Regions from separate parts of the Homo sapiens genome. Here all the other regions are linked to region 2. Evidence: promoter capture Hi-C in 16 types of primary human blood cells and fetal thymus (Javierre and others, 2016). All regions are on one chromosome and are shown on one strand. The core of a region is centred on a gene start or on the middle of the fragment in contact, and the rest is flanking DNA. Distances in the headings are between cores, read along the strand shown.

The links. Contacts are between HindIII fragments. The CHiCAGO score rates a contact against its expected background, and 5 or more counts as called.
Region 1: a contact is called between a fragment that was not itself captured here and the fragment with the promoter of CNNM2 in region 2, in 15 of 17 cell types (megakaryocytes, erythroblasts, endothelial precursors and 12 more). The highest score is 35.2, in megakaryocytes.
Region 3: a fragment that was not itself captured here is called in contact with the fragment with the promoter of CNNM2 in region 2 in 1 of 17 cell types (megakaryocytes); the score reaches 5.1 in megakaryocytes.
Region 4: a fragment that was not itself captured here is called in contact with the fragment with the promoter of CNNM2 in region 2 in 7 of 17 cell types (megakaryocytes, erythroblasts, M2 macrophages and 4 more); the score reaches 11.8 in megakaryocytes.
Region 5: a fragment that was not itself captured here is called in contact with the fragment with the promoter of CNNM2 in region 2 in 4 of 17 cell types (M1 macrophages, megakaryocytes, erythroblasts and 1 more); the score reaches 7.3 in M1 macrophages.
Region 6: a fragment that was not itself captured here is called in contact with the fragment with the promoter of CNNM2 in region 2 in 3 of 17 cell types (erythroblasts, megakaryocytes and M2 macrophages); the score reaches 9.0 in erythroblasts.

The regions. Positions count from the first base shown.
Region 1 is chr10:103,057,508-103,060,543 of GRCh38, forward strand. The region is part of intron 4 of CNNM2 (cyclin and CBS domain divalent metal cation transport mediator 2); the gene reads left to right. Among named protein-coding and RNA genes, the nearest start is that of NT5C2, 130 kb to the right of the region's middle. The HindIII fragment of the contact is 1,595 bases long and covers 748-2,342 here.
Region 2 is chr10:102,916,838-102,919,746 of GRCh38, forward strand. CNNM2 (cyclin and CBS domain divalent metal cation transport mediator 2) reads left to right here and starts at 1,457. Exons shown (of 8, transcript NM_017649.5): 1 at 1,457-2,909. The coding sequence starts at 1,644. LOC107984265 (a long non-coding RNA gene) reads right to left here and starts at 1,498. Exons shown (of 3, transcript NR_160733.1): 1 at 1,331-1,498. RefSeq lists enhancers at 410-1,096, 1,097-1,783 and silencers at 1,253-1,432, 2,043-2,132. The HindIII fragment of the contact is 7,117 bases long and covers 1-2,909 here.
Region 3 is chr10:102,677,942-102,680,702 of GRCh38, forward strand. All of the region lies in intron 5 of ARL3 (ARF like GTPase 3), which reads right to left. Among named protein-coding and RNA genes, the nearest start is that of TRIM8, 35 kb to the left of the region's middle. The HindIII fragment of the contact is 329 bases long and covers 1,311-1,639 here.
Region 4 is chr10:103,100,153-103,103,193 of GRCh38, forward strand. NT5C2 (5'-nucleotidase, cytosolic II) reads right to left here. Exons shown (of 19, transcript NM_001351169.2): 7 at 1,083-1,174; 8 at 893-950. Among named protein-coding and RNA genes, the nearest start is that of NT5C2, 92 kb to the right of the region's middle. The HindIII fragment of the contact is 6,803 bases long and covers 1-3,041 here.
Region 5 is chr10:103,153,292-103,156,153 of GRCh38, forward strand. All of the region lies in intron 3 of NT5C2 (5'-nucleotidase, cytosolic II), which reads right to left. Among named protein-coding and RNA genes, the nearest start is that of NT5C2, 39 kb to the right of the region's middle. The HindIII fragment of the contact is 746 bases long and covers 989-1,734 here.
Region 6 is chr10:103,118,402-103,121,165 of GRCh38, forward strand. The region is part of intron 4 of NT5C2 (5'-nucleotidase, cytosolic II); the gene reads right to left. Among named protein-coding and RNA genes, the nearest start is that of NT5C2, 73 kb to the right of the region's middle. The HindIII fragment of the contact is 5,128 bases long and covers 1-2,764 here.

The DNA.
Region 1 (3,036 bases), core at 295-2,794, 140 kb after region 2:
GAGTCAGATGAAAATGGTGAATTCAATTGTTAGTATTTTTTGAAGAGTGTGGGAGAGTTTACCAGTACATGTCTGAATCTCAGTGGGTGTTTGAAATTTAAGTGTCATGGGTTATTGGTCCTTTTTCCATCCTTTTTTCCATCCTTCATGAGGACTTAAGTTTATACAGCTTCTTAGAGATATCTTAGCATCTCTTCCATTAACGCCATCAAAATAATCCATTTGTTGTTGTTTTTATTCCTGGTTACCAACCAAACTGTTTTATAGAGGAACTGATAGGATAATTACAGCCTCTTACAGCAGAGTAGCTAATTCCTTCTCACTGTAACATAATTCAGTAGATGAGGTGAGAAGGTCAATTCATTCTAAACTTCCTTTGAGTGGCTTTGGTGCTTGGGTTGACAGGAGGCCTTGTTTTATCACAGTTTCACTTAATAGAGCTCTATCCTTGGCATGGAGGCCAAGGTGGATATTAGTCGATAAAATGCTAATGTGGATCAAATGTGTAGATTCAAGCTCGGGAAAGTGTTGTGTTCATGTGTGACCCCATGTTTGGGCAGCATTGTGGTGTTTGGAAGCAGGAGTGAGGAGTAGGAAAATGCCGAGGGTTAGCTGATTACATGTCACATTCTTACAGTCCTTCTTAGAAACTTCTGTTTGCAAGTTTACTAATTTAGTACGCTGATTCATCTTCTAAATTTAGTTTTCCTCAATTGTTTTTTTTCTTTCCTCTTTGGAGATAATGTAAGCTTGTAACTCTGAGTGCACTGTTGGGAATTTAGTTTATTTACTGCAGTGAGGGAATAAAACATTCATGTTTCTCATAAGAGTGAGATGCGAATATTCCTTAAGCCTGGAGAAACTCTGGATACATCAAAGACTGTCACAGGAGGAATTGGAATATTGACATTGTGAATTTTAGTGTTAATATTAGAAACTGTGGTTTTCAGTTGTCTACTTTTATATAGTTAGTGTTTATGAAGTTGTGATTCAGTAATGCTTTATTGCTATATAAGAAAGCCATGGATCTAAAAATCTTATGGAAAAGGGACTTCATAATCTCTGTCCATTTACAAGTAAATCTTTTAAGATATTTTTGATAAGACATCTATGTATATTTACCTGTATTTGTATACCAATTTGTGTTAAATACTTATATAAAGGTGACAAGTTTTTTGAACTGTTAGGCTGATAATGCCATGGGGGTTTTACAAGTAGTGTGTATGTTTGATGAACAGGACTTACGGAGATGTTTGGTGAAAAACCATGATCTTGCAGACAGCCAGTTACCTAAGGTACAAAGAGAAGAGCAAAATGAAACACCCTCACAGCCTCAGTCAATCTGGCATAGCTGCCATCATTAACAAAGCATATTCTACCTAATATGTCACTAAGCCAGCGTTGGAAGTTCATGCCACTTTAGGGAGCATGATCCACTGTGGAGTTTGTTTGTTTTTTTGTTTGTTTTGTTTTTTGTTTGTTTTGAGAGGGAATCTTGCTCTGTCACCCAGGCTAGAGTGCAGTGGTGTGATCTTGGCTCACCGCAACCTCTGCTTCCCAAATTTAAGCAATTCTCCTGCCTCAGGCTCCCAAGTAGTTGGGACTACAGGCGTGCTCCACCACACCCGGCTAATTTTTGTATTTTCAGTCGAGATGGGGTTTCACCTTGTTGGCCAGGCTGGTCTTGAACTCCTGACCTCAAGTGATCCACCTGCCTTAGCCTCCCAAAGCACTGGGATTACAAGCATGAGCCACCGCGTCTGGCCTCCACTGCATTTCAAGAGCACTAAATAAGAAAAAAGCAATAATATCTGCCTTCCCTTCCTGGCCTCAGTGCCAGTGAGATGCTCTCCCTGCAGGAAAAAACCCTTTAAGTAATTGATAGGAATATAATTGTAAATAGAAACACATCATTTTTTAGTTGAAGCCCTAGATAAGATAAATTCCAAATTATTCAAGGAAAATGACCTAAGTAAACAAGAGTATTTTGTAAGTTACCATGTACATACCTCCCACTACATATGCATAAAAAAGCCAAAACTTCAAGTTTTATCTGTAAAAGTAGATTTTTACACCAAAATGCATTTCAGAAGCAATAAAGACAGTTAAAAGCACAGTAAATCATGGAAAAAACTTTATTGGCTCTACATGCTTTAAATAACTTAACAAAATACGTATGTAAGAAATAGGAACATGATTTTGGTGGAAGTGTTTTTCCACCATCATAGAAGATCAGGCATACTAAAAAAAAAAGTCATAGTTTTAAACTGAATACCTTGTAAAATAGAATTAACAGATTTGGAGGAAATTAAACATAATCAAGAGAAATATACTTTCGAAAAAGCTTATGTGGGCTGGGTGTGGTAGCTCATGCCTGTAATCCCAGAACTTTGGGAGGTCAAGATAGGATCGTTTGAGGCCAGAAGTTTATCAGCCTGGGCTACAGAGCAAGATCCCCTTCTCTACAAAAAATTTTTTAAAAATTAGCCGGGTTTGGTGACAGGTACCTACAGTCCCAGCTGCTCAGGAGGCTGAGGCAGGATTGCTTAAGCCCAGGTGTTGGAGGCTGCAGTGAGCTGTGATTGTGCCACTGTACTCCAGCCTGGGCGACAGAGTGAGCATGTCTCAATAAAAAAGCTATGTGACTCATAAAAATTGATCATTTATCATGTTACAGTGTACATGCTAGTAAATACAAAAAGATAGAAATTTCATGAAACTACCTGAATCGATGATAATGAAATAAAATTCGAAATAAAAAATACATAAAAGTGCTGGGCATGGTGGCTCACGCCTGTAATCCCAGAACTTTGGGAGGTTGAGGCGGGCAGATCACTTGAGTCCAGGAGTTCAAGACCAGCCTGGGCAATGTGGTGAAACCCTGTCTTTACAAAAATACAAACATCAGCTAGGAGTGGTGGCAGCTACTCAGGAGGCTGAGGTGGGAGAATCACTTGAGCCTGGGAGGCAGAGATTGCAGTGAGCCGAGATCGTGCCACTGCACTCCAGCCTGAGGGACAGAGTGAGACCCCCATC
Region 2 (2,909 bases), core at 207-2,706:
AGGTAGAGAAACATTAAACATTTTGAATGTTTTAAGTTTCTTTTTTTTCTTTTTTTTTTTTTGATACGGAGTCTCCCTGTGTCACCCAGGCTGGAGTGCAGTGGCGCGATCTCGGCTCACTGCAAGCTCCGCCTCCCGGGTTCACGCCATTCTCCTGCCTCAGCCTCTCCGAGTAGCTGGGACTACAGGCGCCCGCCACCATGCCCGGTTAATTTTTTGTATTTTTAGTAGAGACGGGGTTTCACCGTGGTCTACGATCTCCTGACCTCATGCTCCGCCCGCCTCGGCCTCCCAAAGTACTGGGATTACAAGCGTGAGCCACCAACGCCCGGCCTGAATGTTTTAAGTTTCAAGGAAAAGACCAATTTGGCAGCTACTCTGCTACCTCGTCACCTCCAGGTGACGTTGGGAGTACTGGGGAGCTAGGTTTCCAGAACTTTTTGCTCTTGAGTGACCTAAGACCCTAGCAGAGTTTGGTCAGTGTGATTAAGAATGAGCCTCTGTGGGTCTGTTTAGGATGCTTGCCCCCTCCCATTTCCTTAACTTGCCTGAATTCCTGCTGGGAATACAGATTCGGGGCCCTTCCCACTCTGTAAATATGGGAAAAGGTCTAGGAAGTATATACTCCTAGCAATAATATGTAGGGGTTCTATGACTAGGAAATTTGGGGAACTGTCCCCCTGACCGCTCCATCCGTAACTTCTGCACACCTTTTGGGGTACGCCGCCGACCTGGAAAGCGTTGCAGGGCGCTCATGCTGCCCGCAGGTGGCGCCACGTGATCGCGAGCCGCAGAGAGCCCGTACCCTAGGAGTCTCGAGGCGCGAGGACTGCTGGTCCGCAGCTGTGCCGGGGCCACCGACGCCGCTTACCCCGGCGGAGCGCCGCGCAGGTGGAGTTGGGGACAGCGGCCGGTGCCCCGGCTTTTTAGGCTGTGTGCATCCCAAGCCGCCTCTAGTTGGCTTCTCGGGCTTCCGGGGCAGGAGGGCGCGCGGCTTTGTGCCTACGAATTGAGAACTGGAGAGCCAGTAACCGGTGCACCGGGAACCTGCCGCCTTGCGCCGCAGGGCTTTAGTCCAAACCTGGCCGGTCCAGGCTCCGGGATCTACTACAGGGGCCCCTGGGGAGCGCGGGCCCCAGGGACGGCTCCTTCCCATTGGCAGCAGGACGGATGCCACGCCCCTTTTTCTTCAGCTCTCATCTTTGACTGGCTCTCGAGTCCCAGATGGCCACGCCCCCTCCCCTCGCACATACACAAGAGTCACGCGCCTTTCAGTTGGAAACTTGGCGTGCAGACGGGGACGGTGGCTCTCGTCGCCCCACCCACTTACCTTGCCATTGGTCCGCGGAGCGGCACACGGTCACGCCCCCATTCCAGCCCCCTGGCTGGGAGGGCGGGCACCCGCTTGTGATTGGCTGGTCGGCCTGCCTCTCGCGGGAGCAGCCGGCGCTCCTCTCCCTCCCTCTTTCCCTCCCGCGAGCCTCGGGGTTCCTCAGCTGGCTGAGGTGGAGTCAGTGTCAGTCAGGGAGGCGAACTGCTGAGCACTGGCCGCGGACGCTCCGTTGCAGTCTCGCCCAGGGGCCGGTACCTGCGCTCGCGCCGCCGGGTTGAAAGGATGAAGCCGCAGCTGGAGCAGCCACCCTATGATTGGCTGTGGCGCTTGTGAACCCAAAGTAAAGATGGCGGGCGGGCAGGCAGCCGCCGCACTGCCCACTTGGAAGATGGCGGCGCGCCGCAGCCTCAGCGCTCGCGGCCGGGGGATCCTGCAGGCGGCTGCGGGGCGGCTGCTGCCGCTGCTCCTGCTGAGCTGCTGCTGCGGTGCGGGCGGCTGCGCAGCGGTGGGCGAGAATGAGGAGACGGTGATCATCGGGCTGCGACTGGAGGACACGAACGACGTGTCGTTCATGGAAGGGGGGGCGCTGCGGGTGAGCGAACGGACCCGGGTCAAGCTGCGGGTGTACGGGCAGAACATCAATAACGAGACGTGGTCCCGCATCGCCTTCACCGAGCACGAGCGGCGGCGCCACAGCCCGGGGGAGCGCGGGCTGGGGGGCCCCGCGCCGCCAGAGCCGGACAGCGGCCCCCAGCGATGCGGCATCCGCACCTCAGACATCATCATCTTGCCCCACATCATTCTCAACCGCCGCACCTCGGGCATCATCGAGATCGAGATCAAACCGCTACGCAAGATGGAGAAGAGCAAGTCCTATTACCTGTGCACGTCGCTCTCCACGCCCGCCCTGGGCGCCGGCGGCTCGGGGTCCACGGGTGGCGCCGTCGGGGGCAAGGGTGGCTCGGGGGTGGCCGGGCTCCCGCCGCCCCCGTGGGCCGAGACCACCTGGATTTACCACGACGGCGAGGACACCAAGATGATCGTAGGCGAAGAGAAGAAGTTCCTGCTGCCCTTCTGGCTGCAGGTGATCTTCATTTCGCTGCTGCTGTGCCTGTCGGGCATGTTCAGCGGCCTCAACCTGGGGCTCATGGCCCTGGACCCGATGGAGCTGCGCATCGTGCAGAACTGCGGCACGGAGAAGGAGAAGAATTACGCCAAGCGCATCGAGCCGGTGCGCAGGCAGGGCAACTACCTGCTGTGCTCACTGCTGCTGGGCAACGTGCTGGTCAACACCACGCTCACCATCCTGCTCGACGACATCGCCGGCTCGGGCCTCGTGGCCGTGGTAGTCTCCACCATCGGTATCGTCATCTTCGGAGAGATCGTGCCCCAGGCCATCTGCTCCCGGCATGGCCTGGCTGTGGGGGCCAACACCATCTTCCTCACCAAGTTTTTCATGATGATGACCTTCCCCGCTTCCTACCCGGTCAGCAAGCTGCTGGACTGCGTCCTGGGCCAGGAGATAGGCACCGTCTATAACCGGGAAAAACTGCTGGAGATGCTCCGGGTCACCGAT
Region 3 (2,761 bases), core at 225-2,724, 240 kb before region 2:
CTGAACAGCTGAGACAGCTTACAGTAATAAATATCAGCTGACACCCTTGGCCATTCGGAACATTAATCCCATAAACAATACATCACTGCAAAAAAACAACCAGCAGGCATCCTCTCTCCTGGCTCATCTGACCGTCACCTGAATTTACAGTGATTACAACTCTGCCAGTTGCTGTCAGTGCACTTGGGCAGCAGAACTAGATAATCTGACGGCTGTCCCAGAGCCGACATCTGACCTTTGCCAAGATGAGGCCGGTGGCGCCGAAAGCCCGAAGGTGGACAGCACCTGGCAGCAGCAGGGGGAAGGGCAGAGGAATGCCGAGGTGGGAGAAATGAGGACTCCAAACGCATCTCTAATTACAATGGGGTCAGCTACTTACTCTGAGAAGCTAAGGCCAATTTTAAGACCATTTTATGAAAAGGATTAATTTAAAGAGAAGCATGTTTAATTTTAGTAGCTAATTGGTTTCCAGGAAAAAAAAAAGATCACCTGTCAAGAGACAAAAAAGATTTTACAAATAAAAGAGGGATGAATAAGATAAGCATCTTCTCTCGCCTGGGAAGCTGAATAGCTCAGCACTTACATAGCACTTTCCACCTTCAGGGGCTCACACAAACACTCAAAGGTGGGCACCTCAACACTCTCTCCTCTACGGAGGCTCGCACTCAAACCATCTTCTCAGAGAAATCAAGGACAGTGTGCCCACACTATGTGAATAGCGCTTTGCCTTTTCCTTGCTTTATGGCTGATTAAGGAGAGATTATTGCATATAACTGAACATGAATGCAGGCAAAGAGATAGGAAAAATATTTACTCAGCTGCAGGAGCCCAAAGCAGAAGGTGGAGGGTGTGGGGTGGTTTTATGCCGGGTCTCTGTTATGGAGGCAAAGGAGGGTTCAAACGGCAGAGCCCTGCTGAGGGACAGTGTCTGGTGTCTCCAGGTGCCTGTGAGGGCCAGCAGTGGTGAAGCCCTTCTAGCCACTGTCCTGCCAACAGAGGGCGCACAGAGGCCAGTCCCTGCCAGCTGACCCCCGGCCTGGGCCCCTGCAGCTGCCGCTGCAACCCTGAGTGTGGGAAGCACAGGGAGCGTAAACAGGGGACCGAGCCCTGTGGCTGCCCTGGGCCCGGGAGGCCCCTCTAATCTGAAGCGGCTAGTGCTTGGGGAGTGGCATCTTTCTTGTGCTGGGCAGAAGAGAACTGGGCTGGAGGTGGGAGGGGAGGGAAGGGGAGGCATTGGCCAACAATGGTACCTCCTCAATCACGTGGCCATGGATCTAGCTGGGGCAAGCTTTGTCAATCACATCAGGGCAAGCTTTGTCAAGCTGCCTCCTGGAAAGGAAAGGCAATGGTGGTGCCCAAGCTCCCCTAGGGGAGGCTCCCATCAGACTTGCTGGAGATTATATTCCCAGAACCTAACATGATGTCTAGCCCACAGCCCACTTAATTCACATCTTTTAAGTCAATCCTTGTAGAAGCCTGCAAAGTAGGTGCTGGTGTTATTTCTCTATCACAGCTGAGGAGATGAAGGCACAGGACAGAGCAGGGCAATGGCAAGCTGTGGTGCCCAGCGTGGTGCTCCAGAGCTGCTTACCAGTTCTCCACGGATGTGGGTACCTGCCGGGTGAAGGGTTCTGCCCCAAGCTTAAAGAGGAGCTGGGAAGCACCCTGAAGATGGGAAAAGGAGGAATTCTGGTTTTATCCTCCTTGTGACTTCCGCTAAAAACAGGGGCCTGAGACTGGAGTAGCCCCAGCCAAGCCTCCCTGCAGCTCCGATAGTGCCAGAGGTTGTTATGGGCCATTCAGTTCTCAAGATTCCTGGGCTGTGGGTATCTGTATATGCAGAGGCCTGGTTATCTGCCTGGCTGCACAATCCTCACATATTAACCATCCACCCAGACCACCTCCTCCAGTGGAAATGCTACATTTAGAGAAAACATACTTGCAAGAGGAGGAACCTTCTGCTTCTTATGTTTAAATAAATGTTCCATACCACTCTTGCTTTCACCTGGCAAGGAAGGCTTTTTTTTTGAGACGGAGTCTTGCTCTGTCGCCCAGGCTGGAGTGCAGTGGCATGATCTCGACTCGCTGCAAGCTCCGCCTCATGCCATTCTCCTGCCTCAGCCTCCCAAGTAGCTGGGACTACAGGCGCCCGCCACCATGCCCGACTAATATTTTTGTATTTTTAGTAGAGACAGCGTTTCACCATGTTAGCCAGGATGGTCTCGATCTCCTGATCTTGTGATCCACCCACCTCAGTCTCCCAAAGTGCTGGGATTACAGGCGTGAGCCACTGCACCTGGCCGAATCTTTATTGTTAAAAACTGGTTTGACCAATTTTCTGTACATTTGATCTTCATTATGGGGATGACGATCTTACGGTATGAATAGTCCTCCCTTCCTTCCTTCCCTGGACCCTCCCCTGACCAATCTTGCTGAAACTGAATTTGAATTGATTAGCTTCAATTCAATAACAGAGACTAAAGAGAGACATGGAATTTCAAATACTGAGCTTTGTTTGGCCTCCTAGAGAGGAAATAAAGTTTCCTATGTCACAATATTATTCTCCCCTATAACCACTGGGAGAAACAGCAGGCCACCCCTAAGCATACAGGGGAAACTCACTCCTCCCAAATCTCTGCATCCCAGAAGTTAAGGTGCACTGCTTCTTTCCAAGGGAAGAGTGGTCTCTGACTATGCTGCTCTCTTAAATTTGATCTCTGTACATTGCATCCATCACTGCTCGGTAGCTGGAAGGAAGCGG
Region 4 (3,041 bases), core at 352-2,851, 180 kb after region 2:
CTCCCTAATGAAAGTCCACTTTGACCACCAGAAATGGCTATAGTGTTCAATGGAATACAGTAATTGTGAACAAATACAAAGTGATAGAAGAATATATTGAATGGAAGCTAAAAGGCCAAAGTTCCAAAAATGTCAGGTTTTTTTATTTATCACTTTTTAGAAACAGGTTGAAGAAACATTTAAAACTTAAAATTGGTCATTTAGGTTCTTTCCACCCTGACTTTCCTGACACTGTCCCTAAGTACAAAGGTACTGTCCATTTTTTTATTTAGTTCAGTGACTCAGCTTTCCACCAAATTTAGTGTCTTCAAGTGGATAAAGCCCAAAGAGGATAAGAAGTTAGCCAACTCTGGTATATAGATGGCTAAACTTTCAGTATTGGCTATATAATTCTCCCTAAAGGGAGAGGATAACTTGTTTAAGACTTACGCAAAATTTTACTTCTGATAAGATACACAGTATTTATTCCTTAATCAAATCTTGCCTGGCCTGGGAATGAAATTAAATTACCATCCCTGAATGGCTCCTGGGTAGCTGCTGTGAAATGAGTTGGGGGGTTTTAGTGTAATTCTGCTTGGACAGATAATCATCACACAAACCTCCCACTCAGTTGTCACAATTAGCACCTCTGCTGGCCGTCTTCATTCCCAGGAGAAGCCAATCAGAAGTGGTGGCTGCAGCACACTGGCAAGGAGAGGGGCCGTGTGGGAGGTGAGAGCCTGCATGGAGCTGCTGGTGCTGTCCCATCTCTCAGGTTGGCAATGTGGCATCTCTCACTAGCACTAAATTCACTTTAGAAAAGCAGAAAAGACCTACAATGGCCAGTTCTCTAAAACCCTGTGCATTAATTTTAAAAATCAATTGGAAAAAAATAATTATAGTATATACATACCTGGTATATCTGGGACAATTAGTAAAAAAATCTACTAGGCAGGCCAACAGGTAGGTCTCTGAAAAATGAAGAACAGATATTCATAAGCTATAATGAAATAATTCAAACTTATTTCATTACCTCCCTTGAATACAGACTAATGGTCACAGAAGGGAAAGCATCAGTATAAATAAGCATAGAATGAATCTACCTGGTAGGTTGAATAGTGTGTTCAGAATGTAAAATCTTTCAGTATCATCTCGCTGGATAAATTTATTTGGATACTGTTCTCTAGTTTCTGGTCTGAAAGAAAAATTTAAAAATTAACTGATTTTTAAAATAACATTATAATAATTGGGAAATAGCATTATTCAAAAATTAACTCAAATATTTTGATGGCTATGTGCAAGACAGAATTCCGAATATTACGCATGGATAGCTATGAAGATGAACGAGTTCAGGTTCCAGCTCTTTATTTTTTTTAATTTTAATTTTTTTTTTTTTTTAAGACAGTCTTGCTATTTTAAGTCCAGGCTGGACTCAAACTCCTGAAGATTGCTCAAGCAATCTTCCCACCTCAGCCTCCCAAGTAGCTGGGATTACAGGTGTGATGTCCAGCTTAGGTTCCAGCTCTTAAAAGAGTTGTCAGTGTGGTGGGCGAGGTGGGTCACATACACATATAATTATAAGGTAAAAAATCACAACTACTACAAGAAAGGTGCAAACATTTATGAGAAAACCAAAGAAGGGAACACCATTTCAACTTAAGAGGTAGAGAGAAGCAAATGTGAGGACTAAGGAGAGGAAAATCTAGGAAGGATTCATGCACGTGCTGGTATATGAGCTGGGCCTTAAAGGCTAGGTGGACCAGTTGTGAAACTAGTCCAACTTGGGTAGAGAAAGGGGAGCAGAGAAAAATTAAGCTAGAAAGATGGGTTGAGGCAGATTAAGCTACTGTTTCTACACCATTTAGGGGCAAGAGGGTACTACTGACAGTTTTAAAGCAGAGGATAATCCCATCGGGGCTGAGTTGTAAAACAAAATTAAATTAGTGGCTGTTTTAGGATAAACTGGGGAAAGACAATGTGATGCACTCCAACAATGGCCACAAATTCTTCCTGTCTCTTTGTGATGCAATTTTGTGGCTCCTCCCATTAGAACTCAGTCTATTTCTCTATCCTTGAATATAGGCTTGTATAGCAGCAAATGGGATCCAAGCAGAGACCTAGAAAAACATGTGTGTATTGAGGCTTAATCTCTCTTGCAGCACTTGGAACCATGGACTACTATGTGCATGACAGTGAGATAGTCTGCTGGAGGATAGAAGGCTACATGTAGAAATGAAGCACTCGGCCAACAGCCTGTGAATGCCAGACATGTGCATGAGGCCATTGTAGATCAGATGCCAGGTCACCCACCAGCTAACCACAGACATGTGAAAGAGCATAGAGAGATCAGCTGTGCAACCCAGAATCACCCAGTTGACTCTCAGAATTTTTTCTTTTTTCTTTTTTTTTTTTTGAGACAGAGTCTCACTCTGTCGGCCAGGCTGGAGTGCAGTGGCGTGATCTCAGCTCACTCATATATTCAAGAGAGATTACCAAGGTAAAATAAGACCCGGCAAACTGAGCAGATTTGGCTGGGGGAACATTAAAGAGTCAAAGATGATGATGTCCATGCTAAGGTGTCTCTGAGAGGTGGTTGGTACGATGAACAGAAATATGAAAACTAGATAAGAAGTGATGTGAGAGTAGTTCTATTTTAGTGATACTAAGTTTGAAGTAAACTGATTTTTATTAGGCAATTAGAAACAAAGGTCAAGAACTTAAAAGAGATTCAGCCTTGAGAGATAACTGAGATCATCTACGTACAGATACTAGATGGAATCATGAAAAGTATTAGAGGAGATGAAACCACTTAGTGTGCAGAGAAGGAAGAGAAGAGACAGAACAGAACCATGAAGAAAATTCAAGGTTTAAAAGAAAAAAGCCAGTGAAGCAGAATTTGTTAAAGATGCAAAAACACTTCTAGAAGAAAACATTTCAGAGAAACTCAAAGGGAAAAATACTAAAATATAAAAATGCACAGTTCTGACAGTGAATACATGGAGATTAACAATGTAAATAAAGGAAATCAAATTTAAAGCTCACACTCAGAGTGACCTGGATTA
Region 5 (2,862 bases), core at 112-2,611, 240 kb after region 2:
CTTCCTTAGACATTCTCAAAGATCTACTTCCTCTGGATGAGAATACAGGATCAACAAACAAGCTTCACTGATCTCTTGAGAACTGTAGCTCATTTGTTAAAGCACAGAGAACTCAGGCCCTGAGAGGCCCAACAAATTTGGGCACAATGCCGAACCCTAACTAGGCAATATCTCAGTGACCAATATCCTCAGCTTTAAATACTTGAAAACTTAAGAATAATTTTTTTAAAAATTTCAAGACTAGGAAAAATAACTAATGGCCTGAACTGTTTAAGGCTGGCCAGTTAAGGAAGGAGACAATCCAAATGGCAAGTTCCTGTAAGAGACAGGAATCGTTACTGGCAAACACAGAAAAAGCAAATTTACCCCCTAATGAGGCCCTCCAACAGTACGCAAACAATGTGAGTTTCACAGAATCAAGCAGCCCTGGTCGGTCAAAATCATTTTTAGTTTACTCTGGGAGCAAAAAACACAGGATAAATAATTTTATGTTTTAATTATTAGTGTAGTTATTTCCTCCCTCAGAAAATAAACAATGTGAATTACAAGAGAAGGAAGTATGTGCAGATCATATTACAGGAGGAACCTAAAGTATTTCCACAGCGAGGTATTTTTTTTTCTGACTTCATTAACTGCTTTTAAACAAAACATCTGCGTTCACAAATATTTCACTTAATCGCCTGAAAATTTCAGCTCATGTGAAAAGATATTTACAGATCTTTGGCATATGGGGGATAAATCCAGAACATTCTAAAGGTTAATTCCAAATCTCAGAGCAAACTGAGCTTTGAAAAAAAAGAATCTGTAACATTCCTGCCTCCCGACCAATATAATGCATAGGGATTATGCAACAGGGGAAGAAATAAATAAGTCTGCTAAAGTCTAAGAACATTGAGATGGCAAATCCTCCTCACGGTGATTCAAATTAAAAATAAAATACATATACCTTAAAGAACTACTACTTGAATTAAGGCTTAAAATTTTTAAAAGCTTTATCCCTTTAAATATTACCTAAATATCTTACCATAAAGGTTTCTTTTTGTTATTAAAATGTTTAAATAGTTACTAAGTAATTAAAAGCACTACTAAATACTATAAATTCAAAATAAAATTAAGGGATAAAAGACTTTAAGGTAGAAAAAATAAAAAAGAAAAAACAAAAGAAAATTATTTTCAGTTTATTTAGAAAAGCAGTATGGTGTAATGGAAAGAGAATGGGCACTAGAAGAACTAAGGCTTAAATTCCAGCTCCTCCACTTTCTGGCTTTGGAACTTTGAATAAGTTACTTAACCTAAGCCTGAGCGTTTTAATCTATAAAAGGGAAGATAACATCTGGTAGGGATGTTGTCTGTCACATGTAAGCGCTCCAAGAACTATTACTGAGGGTAGGGGAACAGGAAAAGCAACTGGATTATCAGGCATTGCCTCATTAATATATCTCATGGGAAATACTTTTTTAAAAAATCTAAATCTCAAGTTTTACACAAATATGAAGGATTTCCATTGACTATCCTCAAAGCAAATTCCATAACTACAAGAATACAAATTGAATATGGAAAAATGATCTAATCCTTAAGGGTGCCAACTTCCCATGGATTCCCTAGATTTTCAGCTTGTGGTATCACAGCTCAGTGCAGTGGAAATAAATGTAATTACTATTTTAAGACTTTACTATTGGCAAAGAGAAAGGAAAACAAAAATTATCACTTGAACTGAGGGTACACACTTACAGAAGCTTCCTGTGCAAAAGGTAAGGCATTGTCTAAAGATGATTAGCTCTTTCAAACTCCATGCATACATTAAACAAATATTTACTGAATGTCTGTGTGCCAGATACCAGTGATACAAAGATAAACTTGGAAGTCCTTGATTTTAAGAAGCTAGTGAGAAGGTCCATTCAAAAGTAGCTATGAAGTAGTGTGTTAATAGTAGTATTAGAGATACGCACAACAGAGAGGGACATATAGATCCTCTTGGCTGAGTCTTAGAGATAGGATGAGATACTGTTTTTTAAAAACTGACACTGTGCTAAGCTCTTTATTTATTACCTCATCTAATCTTTGCAATAACTCTATGAGGTAAAGTTATTCCAGTTTAAAAGATTACAAAATTAAAATTTACAAAACTTAAATGCTGGGATTCTAAAGAAATGGAACAATCCAAAATGCCAACCCTAGCCCCAAGCTCTTAATCACCAGGCTAAAAGTATTAGCAGCAGGCTAAGAGGAAAAGAAGAGGTCTCCAACAGAAGAGGAACCATGAACAAAAAGCAAAATGACATAAACATCATGATGTGTGAATAAAAACAAAGCTATGAGCCCGGGAGGTCAAGGCTGCAGTGAGCCATGATCACACCACTGCACTCCAGCCTAGGTGACAGAGCAAGACCCAGTCTCAGAGAAAAAGCAAAGCTAGATACAGTTGACAGAACACAGAATCTGAGGAAGAGAACTGCTCAACACAAAAGTGGACAGAAAAAGATCAGTCTTAGAGAGTCTTGGCGGGGTTAGAATTTATCCTGTTGCATGCTCGATGTGATATCACTAAAGGATCTAAGCAGGATTATAACATTATTTAAAAAATGAATTTGGCCAGGTGCCATGGCTCACACCTGTAATCCCAGCGACTCAGGAAGCTGAACTGGGAGGACTGCTTGAGGCCAAGAGTTTTAGACCAGCATGGGCAACATACAAGATCCTGTCTCTACAAAAAAAAATTTAAAAATTAGCCAGGTATGGTGGCATGCACCTGTAGTCCCAGGTACTTGGGAGGCTGAGGTGTGAGAATTACTTGAGGTCAAGGTGACCACAGTGAGTTATGATCATGCCATTACACTCCAGCCTGAGCAACAGAGTGAGACT
Region 6 (2,764 bases), core at 25-2,524, 200 kb after region 2:
GCTGAAGTGCAGTGGCACAATCTCAGCTCACTGCAACCTCCGCCTCCCAGGATCAAGCAATTCTCCCACCTCAGCCTCCAGAGTAGCTGGGATTACAGACGTGCACCACGCTCAACTAATTTTTGCATTTTTTGTAGAGATGCGGTTTTGTTATGTTGCTCAGGCTGGTCCTGGACTCCTAGGTGCAAGCAATCCATCTGCCTCGGCCTCCCAAAGTGCTGGCATTAATTACAGGAATAAGCCACCATGCCTGGACAAAATCATCACATTTCATCTTCACAAATCTCCTTTAGGGGTTGAGTCCTTATGATATATTCTGATTAGATTTTTACTTTGTTTAGTTTTATGAATGTTTTCTAATTTATTTTTATTAATTTTATTAACCACAATTATCTTTTTTGTTTGTTTGTTTTTTAAGGGATCATCTCTTTTTGGAGAGGGAATTTTTTTTTTCTTTTTATCTGTTACCCTAGTTTAAATACTCAGCTTATTCTCTTATTCTACCCTATTTGTGGGGGAGGGCAAGAGTCCAAAAACTCTTAAGAAAAAAGATCACTAAGGGAGATCATGAATGCATTTTTAAGATGTAGTAAGTCAAACTACATCTATTTTTCTGTTCTTTAATTTTCAGTTGTATGCTTTTGATCCATTCACAAACTGATAAATCTCTCAAGAATAAGTCAGAGGGCCGGGCACAGTGGCTCACACCTGTAATCCCAGTACTTTGGGAAGCCAAGATGGGTGGATCACCTGAGATGGGGAGTTCAAGACCAGCCTGACCAACATGGAGAAACCCCATCTCTACTAAAAATACAAAATTAGCCAGGCATGGTGGCACATGCCTGAAATCCCAGCTACTCAGGAGGCTGAGGCAGGAGAATCATTTGAATCCAGGAGGCAGAGGTTGCGGTGAGCTGAGATCGCGCCATTGTACTCCAGCCTGGGCAACAAGAGCAAAATTTTGTCTCCAAAAAAAAGTCAGAGGGTATATACAGGTTGGTAGCTTTCACTGACTTAGAAGTGCTCATTCCCTCACACAAATATCTCTTGCACATATAATCTGGAAGCCAGTGGGATGAGGTAATGCACAAGTTCTATATTTTCCAAGTTGTGAGGAGGATGCCCTGAGTATTATTTCATGACCTAGGACAATGAGAATTTCTTTGGTCTTTTTGATAAAGGTTACCTTTCTTGTTTTGTACCAAAGACTTTTCAACAAATACATTCCTTTCAGAGACCTCTCGTCACAGTAAGAACTCCAAATAGATGCAACCAGTTTACACGCTATCAATAGTAAGTTCAGCTCAGCTAATCTTCCATCTTAATTCATCAAAGAGTTTCATCGTTCTTTAAGAAGAAATGCTAAAGCACAGACTTTTACATTGTCATTGGTTTCATTAAACAAAAAAAAAGGCGTGGCCAGTTGCAGTCTCATGCCTGTAATCCCAGCACTCTGGAAGGCTGAGGCTGGTGGACTGCTTGAGTCCAGGAATTAGAGACCAGCCTGGGCAACATGGTGAAACCCCATTTCTACAAAAAATAAAAAAATTAGCCAGGCATGATGGCACGAGCCTATAGTCCCAGCTACTTGGGAGGCTGAAATGGGAGAATCACTTGAGCCTGGGAGGCAGAGGTTGCAGTGAGCTGAGATCACACCACTGCACTCCAGCCTGGATGACAGTGTGAGACCCTGTTTCAAAAAAAAAAAAGGAAGAAAAGAAAAGAAGTAAACTCAAAATGGATCAAAGACCTAAATGTAGGAGTTAAAACTATAAAACTCTTAGAAGAAAACATGGCAGAAAATCTTCCTTATATTGGATTTGGGAATGATTTCACAGCTATGACAGCAAAAAGCACTGGCAACAAAAGAAAAAAACAGATAAACTGGACTTCAAAATTAAAAACTTTTGTGCCTCAAAAGCCATGATCAAGAGAGGGAAAAGAAAACCCACAGAATGAGAGACAATATTTGCAAATTGTGTATCTGATGAGGGATTAATATCCAGAATATATAAAGATTAATATGCAGAATGTGTAACTCCACAGTTATTTTAAAAACCTAATTTTAAAAAACTGATATTTCTCCAAAGAAGTTATATAACTGACTAAATAAACACATGAAATGATGCTTAATATCACCAGCCATTAGAGAAACATGAAATCAAAACCATAAGATACCGTAACTTCACACCCAGTAGAATGAGTATTATCAAACAACAACAAAAAACCTGAAAATAAGTATTGCCAAGATGTGAAGAAACTGGAACTCTCATTCATGTATTGCTGGTGGGGATGTAAGATGTTACAGCCACTATAGAGAACAGTTTGGCAGTTCTTTAAAAAGCTAAACATAGATTTACGTTATGATCCAGCAATTCCATTCCTGGGTATATACCCAAAACAACTGAAAGCAGGAAGCAGGAACTCAAACAGATGCTTAAATACCAATGTTCACAGCAGCCTATTCATAATAGCCAAAAGGTGGAGACAATCCCCATGTCCATCAACAGATGAACAGATAAACAAATGTATATACCTACAGTAGAATATTATTCAGTCTCAAAAAGTAATATATGCTATAACATGGACAAATTTAAAAAATATGCTAAAAGAAATAAGCCAGACACAAAACAAGTATTGTATAATTTCACTTTTATGAAATACCTATAACAGACAAATTCATAGAGACAAAATAAATTAGAGGTTACTAGCAACTGAGGGGTGGAGGGAATGGGGAGTTATTGCTTAATGGGTATGGAGTTTC